2 separate regions of the Homo sapiens genome follow, and region 1 is linked to region 2. The links are contacts of gene promoters, found by promoter capture Hi-C in blood cells and fetal thymus (Javierre and others, 2016). All regions are on one chromosome and are shown on one strand. Each heading gives the region's core, a stretch centred on a gene start or on the middle of the fragment in contact. The rest is flanking DNA. Distances are from core to core; before and after follow the strand shown.

What was found. The method cuts DNA at HindIII sites, captures the fragments that hold promoters and counts their contacts. A CHiCAGO score of 5 or more calls a contact.
Region 1: the fragment with the promoter of ITGAD here is called in contact with the fragment with the promoter of PRSS53 in region 2 in 1 of 17 cell types (neutrophils); the score reaches 6.8 in neutrophils.

What each region holds. Positions count from the first base shown.
Region 1 is chr16:31,391,872-31,395,455 of GRCh38, forward strand. It overlaps ITGAD (integrin subunit alpha D), which reads left to right and starts at 1,464. Exons shown (of 30, transcript NM_005353.3): 1 at 1,464-1,520; 2 at 2,365-2,470. The coding sequence starts at 1,490. The HindIII fragment of the contact is 1,676 bases long and covers 1-1,547 here.
Region 2 is chr16:31,087,229-31,090,737 of GRCh38, forward strand. It overlaps PRSS53 (serine protease 53), which reads right to left and starts at 1,715. Exons shown (of 11, transcript NM_001039503.3): 1 at 1,524-1,715; 2 at 578-598; 3 at 309-471. The coding sequence starts at 1,581. RefSeq lists an enhancer at 1,392-1,892. The HindIII fragment of the contact is 23,145 bases long and covers 1-3,509 here.

The DNA of each region.
Region 1 (3,584 bases), core at 214-2,713, 300 kb after region 2:
CAGCCTCCTGAGTAGCTGGGATTACAGGTGCGCACCACCATGCCCAGCTAATTTTTGTATTTTTAGTAGAGACGGGGTTTCACCATATTGGCCAGAGCTGGTCTCAAACTCCTGACCTCAGGTGATCCATCCACCTCAGCCTCTCAAAGTGCTGGGATTATAGGTGTGAGCCACTGCGCCTGGCCTATTCCTAGCCTTTTATATATAGACCTTTTTCTTTTTCACATTTTAAAGGAACTTTTATGTTTAATCATGGAATATTTCAAACATACAGAAAAATCACAGAAAATAAATAACAACCACTCATTTATCTTCTCCCCAACCCCATGTAATAAATATTAAAATATTGTGTTAAATGCTAAATTTAACACATGCTAAAGGTTCCTGGCTGGATGTGGTGGCTCACGCCTGTAATCCCAGTACTTTGGGAGGAGGAGGTGGGAGGATTGCTTGAGTCCAGGAGCTCGAGACCAGCATGGGCAACATAGTGCGATCTCGTCTCTACAAAAAACAAAAAAATTAGCTGGGCATGGTGGTGTGCATCAGTAATCCCAGTGACTGGGAGGCTGAGGTGGGAGAATTGCTTGAGTCTGGGAATTTGAGGCTGCAGTGAGCCCTGATCATGCCACTGCATTCCAGCATGGGCGACATAGCAAAACTTGTCAAAAAAAAAAAAAGTTTCCTCTCTGCCCCACCATAGACAACCACTCTTCTGATTTCTATCTTCGTAGATGAATTTTGCCCATTCTCTTGTATATGAAAGGAACCAGACATTAGGCATTCTGGTGTCTGGTTTCTTTCACTTAAGATAAAATTGAGTTAACCTGTATTGTTGTACAGAACTGCAGTTTGTTCTTTGTTATTTATTGTAAAGACAGGGTCTGGCTATGTTGCCTAGGCTGGTCTCGAACTGTTGGCCTCAAGCAATCCACCTGCCAAGCTCTGGGACCACAGGCATGAGCCATGGCATCTGATCTGTAGTTTGATCTTATTTCTTGCTGAGTAGTAGCCCATGGCATGACTTTATTATTTTGGGTGTCCATTCTCCTCTGGAGGGGCTCTGCTTTTTGAAACCACACCCTGGCCTAGCTCCCCTTCTCCCTGCCTCTCTGCCGGCTCACATCCACATGCCAAGACCTCTGCAGCCATTCTGCTTCCTGTCCTTCCACTCCTGTGGGACCTCAGAGAGCTACGGGGCTCCCTGGGTACCAACTGGCTCCTGAGGCCTGGGGGAGGGTGGTCTTCTGGGAGAAGGAAGCCAGGTCCCTGCAGGTTGTGGAGGGGGACAGAATGAGGGTTTTTCCCCAGGGTGTTGTTGGCCCCTGCCCCCACTTCTGTTCCATAATTAACCACGCCCCTCCTACCCACTGTGCCCCTCTTCCTGCTGTGTGGAGGCCCTGAATCATTATTTTAACTACCCCCTGGGAGGGTGAGCACCTTCTGTGCTCTGTCCCCAACCTTCCACTTCCCCTCAACGCGCTGCTCAGGGATGACCTTCGGCACTGTGCTTCTTCTGAGTGGTAAGTGGGGCCAGGGTGCTGGGGAGAAGCTTGGAGGAGTTCTGAGGGGACTCCATCTGGGAGGGCAGGCTGGGGGCTGGTGGTCGGCTCCAACCACTCTTATGAGGAGCTGAGGCAGGGGAGTGCTTCATGTGCGAGTGGCCCGGAGTCAGTAGAGTGTGACCTGAATGAAGAGGGGCTCAGGGGCTGTGCTCAGGTGGCGACTAAGCTACCTCTCCAGCTGGCTATGTTGTCCCAGGCTTCCCTGCTCCCACTCATGGAGTCCCTGGTGTGGGTGACAGAGGTCTCCCCAGCCTCCCCCGGGAGTGGAAGGCCACAGAAGCCACCAGGGAGGGGGAAAGGTTGGACATCACCTCCCTGGGCCTGTTTCCCCCAAGTCCTGACTGCACGTAGGGAAGAGGCCCCCTGCTGAAAACTGCATCAGAGTCACATTCACGTGCCATCAAAAATCAGGCTTGGCTGGGTGCGGTGGCTCATGCTTATAATCCCAGCACTTTGGGAGGCCGAGATGGGCGTATCCCCTGAGGTCAGGAGTTTGTGACCAGCCTGGCCAACATGGTGAAACCCCATCTTTACCAAAAATATAAAAATTAGCCGGGCATGGTGGCGTGCACTTGTAATCCCAGCTACTTGGGAAGCTGAGGCAAGAGAATCGCTTGAACCCAGGAGACGGAAGTTGCAGTGAGCTGAGATCGTGCCGTTGCACTCCAGCCTCAGCAACAGAGCGAGACTCCATCTCAAAAAAAAAAAAAAAAAAAAGAAAAAAAAGAAAAAGAGGCTGGGAGGTCCTAGGGATTGGGGCTTCTTTAACTCCCAGCCTCCCCGCCCACCAAATATTCCTCAGTCCTGGCTTCTTATCATGGATTCAACCTGGATGTGGAGGAGCCTACGATCTTCCAGGAGGATGCAGGCGGCTTTGGGCAGAGCGTGGTGCAGTTCGGTGGATCTCGGTAGGCCCCACTCACCCTCCTTCCCCAACCTCCACTACATCAAGTCCTGTGGATGGGTACACGTGGGTTACCCCAGGGAGGTGTCCTGGAGGAAGGCCAGCAGGGGTGAGAAGTCTTCCCTTGGCTCCTTGGAGGCCCTGACATCAGCACCTATTATTCTCAATCCCAGGAAAGGCCACAAAACTCTAGACAAGACCCTACCTTACCTCGGGAGGGAAGCCTTGAACCTGCCTCCCAGGCAGGGCCCACTTCTTGGGGCCAGTATGGTCACACAGGGCCCACACTCATTAACTTTGGAGTTTAATGTTCTGCCCTTGACCTCTTGAAATTCCTGATTATTTTTATTTTTATTTTTACTCCAGCTCTGTTACCCAGGCTGGAGTGCAGTGGTGCAATCACAGCTTACTGCAGCCTCAAACTCTCGGGCACAAGTGATCCTCTCACCTCAGCCTCCTGAATAGCTGGGACCACAGGTGCATGCCATCATGCCTGTTTTTTGTTTTGTTTTGTTTTACTTTTTACAGAGATGGAGTCTTGCTATGTTGTCCAGACTGGCTGAACTCCTGGGCTCAAGCAATCCTCCTGCCTTGGCCTCCCAAAGTGCTGGGATTACAGGTGTGAGCCACCCTGTCTTGCCAATTCTTAAAAATTTTATCTGTGCATTTGTGTTTTGCAAGTAAAGAATGATGGCAGGGCTGGGCACCATGGCTCACGCCTATAATCCCAACGCTTTGGGAGGCTGAGGCGGGCAGATCATCTGAGGCCAGGAGTTTGAGACCAGTTTGGCCAACACAGCAAAACCCCATCTCTACTAAAAATGCAAAAAAAATTAGCCGGGCATGGTGGCAGGCATCTGTAATCCCAGCTACTTGGGAGGCTGAGGCAGGAGAATCGCTTGAACCTGGGAGGTGGAGGTTGCAGTGAGCCGAGATCGTGCCACTTTACTCCAGCCTAGGTGACAGAGTGAGACTCCGTCAAAAAAAAAAAGTCATGGGAGAAGGGAGATGCACTGGGGGTTTGGAGCCTTAGCTCAGCAGCAGCCCCACCTCCCACCGCCTCCTGAAGGGTGGTGAAGGGGTATCAGCTGCTGGCTCCCCCACCCATGTGGGAGCAA
Region 2 (3,509 bases), core at 465-2,964:
TCAAGCGATCCTCCCTCCGTGGCCTCCCAAAGGGCTGGGATTACAAGCGTGAGCTACTGTGCCCGGCCTCAGTCTGTGACTTTAAGCGAGGTCATTCCCTTGCAACCTGAGTTTTCTGATTTGTAAATCTTCTACCATGAAAGGTGGTTGTTACAATTAACTTGACAATATGTACCCAGTACATGGCAGATTCTCAGTAAATGGTTCTTTATTATTACTCTAGAGGCAGGGACTAGCCTTGTGGGGCTTGAGACAAATTGTCCACTCCCCAGAGCCGGAGACCCTGCCTGACCCCAGCCATGACTTACTTTTCAAAGCAGTGGGCAGCAGTGAGGACCCAGGTGTCTGCCACCAGGGAGCCGCTGCAGATGTGGGCTCCTTGCCTCCTCACACTGGCCTGCCAGGGCCACTCGCCAGGGACTGTGTTGCCCTCCTGAGGCTTGGGGGGGCCGGGGCCACGCTGTCCACAGGCTGTGGAAAGGAGTTAGTCACACTGACAGCAGATACCTGTCCTGACCTCACCCCAGTCCCAACCCAGACCCAAGTAAGACCTAGGCCCCGTGTCCCCAGACCTTACCACGCTGAGCGGCTTGAAGACCTGGGAAGAGAGAGACACAGGTAAGATGCAGGGACTCCAGGCCTGCCTAGCTTTGGGGAGGAGAGGGGATGGGCTGGGGGGCGGGCCCAGGGTCCTTGCCTGTGACTCTGATTACCTTACCAGCCCCTCCCAGAATGAAAATATTTATATGAGGCCGAGACAGCTTTTATTGGAACCTATTCAGTGTGCACACTCAGTAATTAATTCTCCTTCAGCTGTGCTCAGCACTCTGGGGCTTGGGGTTCAGCTTGGGAGTAGGCCAGCCCTCCTCCAGGCTTCAGAACCCCCAACTCCTGCCCCCGCCACTGAGTCAGCCAGGCGGCCTGTGTGTGTAGAGAGCATTAGCTTAATTGTCCTCTTAGCAGCAGAGGCCTAAGAGGAAGGATTAGAGGCCTGCATCATTTCCAAGTGGGGAGGGCCCCAAGAAATGGAGACTTACCTCACCCTGGTCTAGAGACTCAGTCTTCCCCACCTTCCCAGAAACTGTCTGAGAGCCCGCCAGAGAGAGGGCCCCTGCCCACCGCCCCTCACAGGCACACAGGCACCCCATGAGACAGCTGAGCCAGGCTGCCCAGAGGATGGATGAAAAGAAAGGGAAACTGAGGCCAGAGGAGCCCAGAGTTTGCCTGACGTCATTGTGGAAGTCGAGGGGGAGGCAGGCACAGGACACACGCAGGCAGCACCTCACACACACACAAGACCACAGGCCCCGCCAACGCAAACTGCAGCTGGCCCGAGAAAATCTCATCCATGTTGACACAGGTGGCCACATATACCACCCCACAGAGTCCTACGGAGTTACATCCCCACTGGTGGACTGTCGCCCACAGGCGGTCCCCCCACCAAGAAGCAGGGACTGCTGGGGCAGAGATGGCCCCTGAGCCCCCACCAGGCCACACCCATACCCCAGCACATGGCGGCTTACCCTCCATGAGGACTGTGGCACCCGCGATGAGCAGCACTGGGCCCCAGCACCACTTCATGCTGCCCCGGGCCACTCTGCCACCTGTGCTCCACTCTGAGAGAGGCCACCTGGGTCTCCCTGGCTCCACCTCTGCTCCACCTCCAGTTGGCTAGGATTCAGCTGTCTGCTTGCCCTAGCCAGCAGTTCCTAGCTCTGGGGCTGTGGCTGTGTGACCCTAGGCTTGTCACCACCCCTCTCTGGGCCTTAGCCGTGGAGCCAAATTGTCTGGGTTTAAATCTGTTTCCTTACTACTTGAGTGGCCTGGGAGAGCTAACCTGCCTGTGCCTTGTCTGAGAAACAGTTGTTGAATGGAAAACGTCTCAATGACAGCCTGGCACAGGGCAAGCTCACTCCCAGCATGAAAGTGCCATCCTGGAACCATGGAGGGCACGTGGGCAGCTCCTCCCAGTCCCCACTTTTCATTTCCACTCCCCCACTTCTCTTCCAGCCAGGGCTAGGTGGGTTTCACATGCCTTCTCCCAGGTCTGCTCAGAGACAGTGTGTGCCAGGCTGAGTGGTGAGGAGCCAGCACCCACTGCTGCTTGCTCGCTGTGAGCCTTTGGCAAATCCCAGTATCTCCCTGGGCCTGCTGGCTTCCTGGGAAACAGGGTGACAGCGGTGCCCACCTTCCTCATAGGCGCAGAGGACTCGGTCAGGCGGGAAGAACACTTTGGCGCGTGCCTCCTCTTCCTCTTCCCACTCCTAACTCAGGCTGGCCCAGACCATTCAAGAACCCTGACCCCAAGACAGAGGCAGCTGTGGGTAAGGTTTAGCATATATTATAGATGCTGGCCGGGCATGGTGGCTCACGCCTGTAATCCCAGCACTTTGGGAGGCCAAAGCAGGCAGATCACCTGAGGTCGGGAGTGCGAGACCAGCCTGACCAACATAGAGAAACACTGTCTCTACTAAAAATACAAAATTAGCCAGGCCTGGTGGCGCATGCCTGTAATCCCAGCTACTCGGGAGGCTGAGGCAGGAGAATCACTTGAACCTGGGAGGTGGAGGTTGTGGTGAGCCGAAATTGTGCCATTGCACTCCAGCCTGGACAACAAGAGCGAAAGTCCGTCTCAAAAACAAACCAACAAAAAAAAAAGCATATAGATGCTGGAGCCAGATGGACCAGGTGGATTCAAATCCTGAGAGCCTCCTGCAGTAGCTGTGTGATCTCAGGCATACTAATTAGCCACTCTGTCCCTATCATCAAGATAGGGATAATAATAGTACCCACCTCATAAATCACTGTAAAGATTAAACGAGTTTAACACGTTAACACAAGTTTTTTTTTGTTTTTTGTTTTTTTTTGGAGACGGTCTTGCTCTGTTGCTCAGGCTGGAGTGCAGTGATCATGGCTCACTGCAGCCTCAACCTTCTGGGCTCAAGCAGTCTTCCCGCCAGCTTCCCGATTAGTTGGGACTATAGGTACATACACCACCATGCCTGGCTAATTTTTTTTTTTTTTTTTTTTTGTAGAGACAGGGGTCTCACTATTTTGCCCAGGCTGGTCTGGAACTCCTGGCCTCAAGTGATCCTCCTGCCTTGGCCTCCCAAAGTACAGGGATTACAGGTGTGAGCCACTGCACCCTGCCAACACAAGTTCTTAAACAGTGCTTGGCATGTAGGTAAGTGGTCAGGGCATAATAGGCAAAACAAAAACCTTCACAACCTGGCCCTGACCCTCCAAGGCTACCAATACTGGCTTGGAATGGTCGATAAGGCAACTGGAGGGGTTAAAGTTAAACTCAAGGAAGAACTTCCCAGCAAGCATTTACAGAACCAGAAGGGCAGCCTGCCCTTCCAGGTGTGTGCTCAGCCTTCCCAGGAGAGGAGGCCTGGCTCCTGTGGGCAGCAGGAGCGAGCTGCCAGCCTGTTTCCTGGGGGTGGGGGCCAATGGTGCCCCAGGCCTTGCTGACTCCACACACTGGAGATGAGACTACCCATAACCAC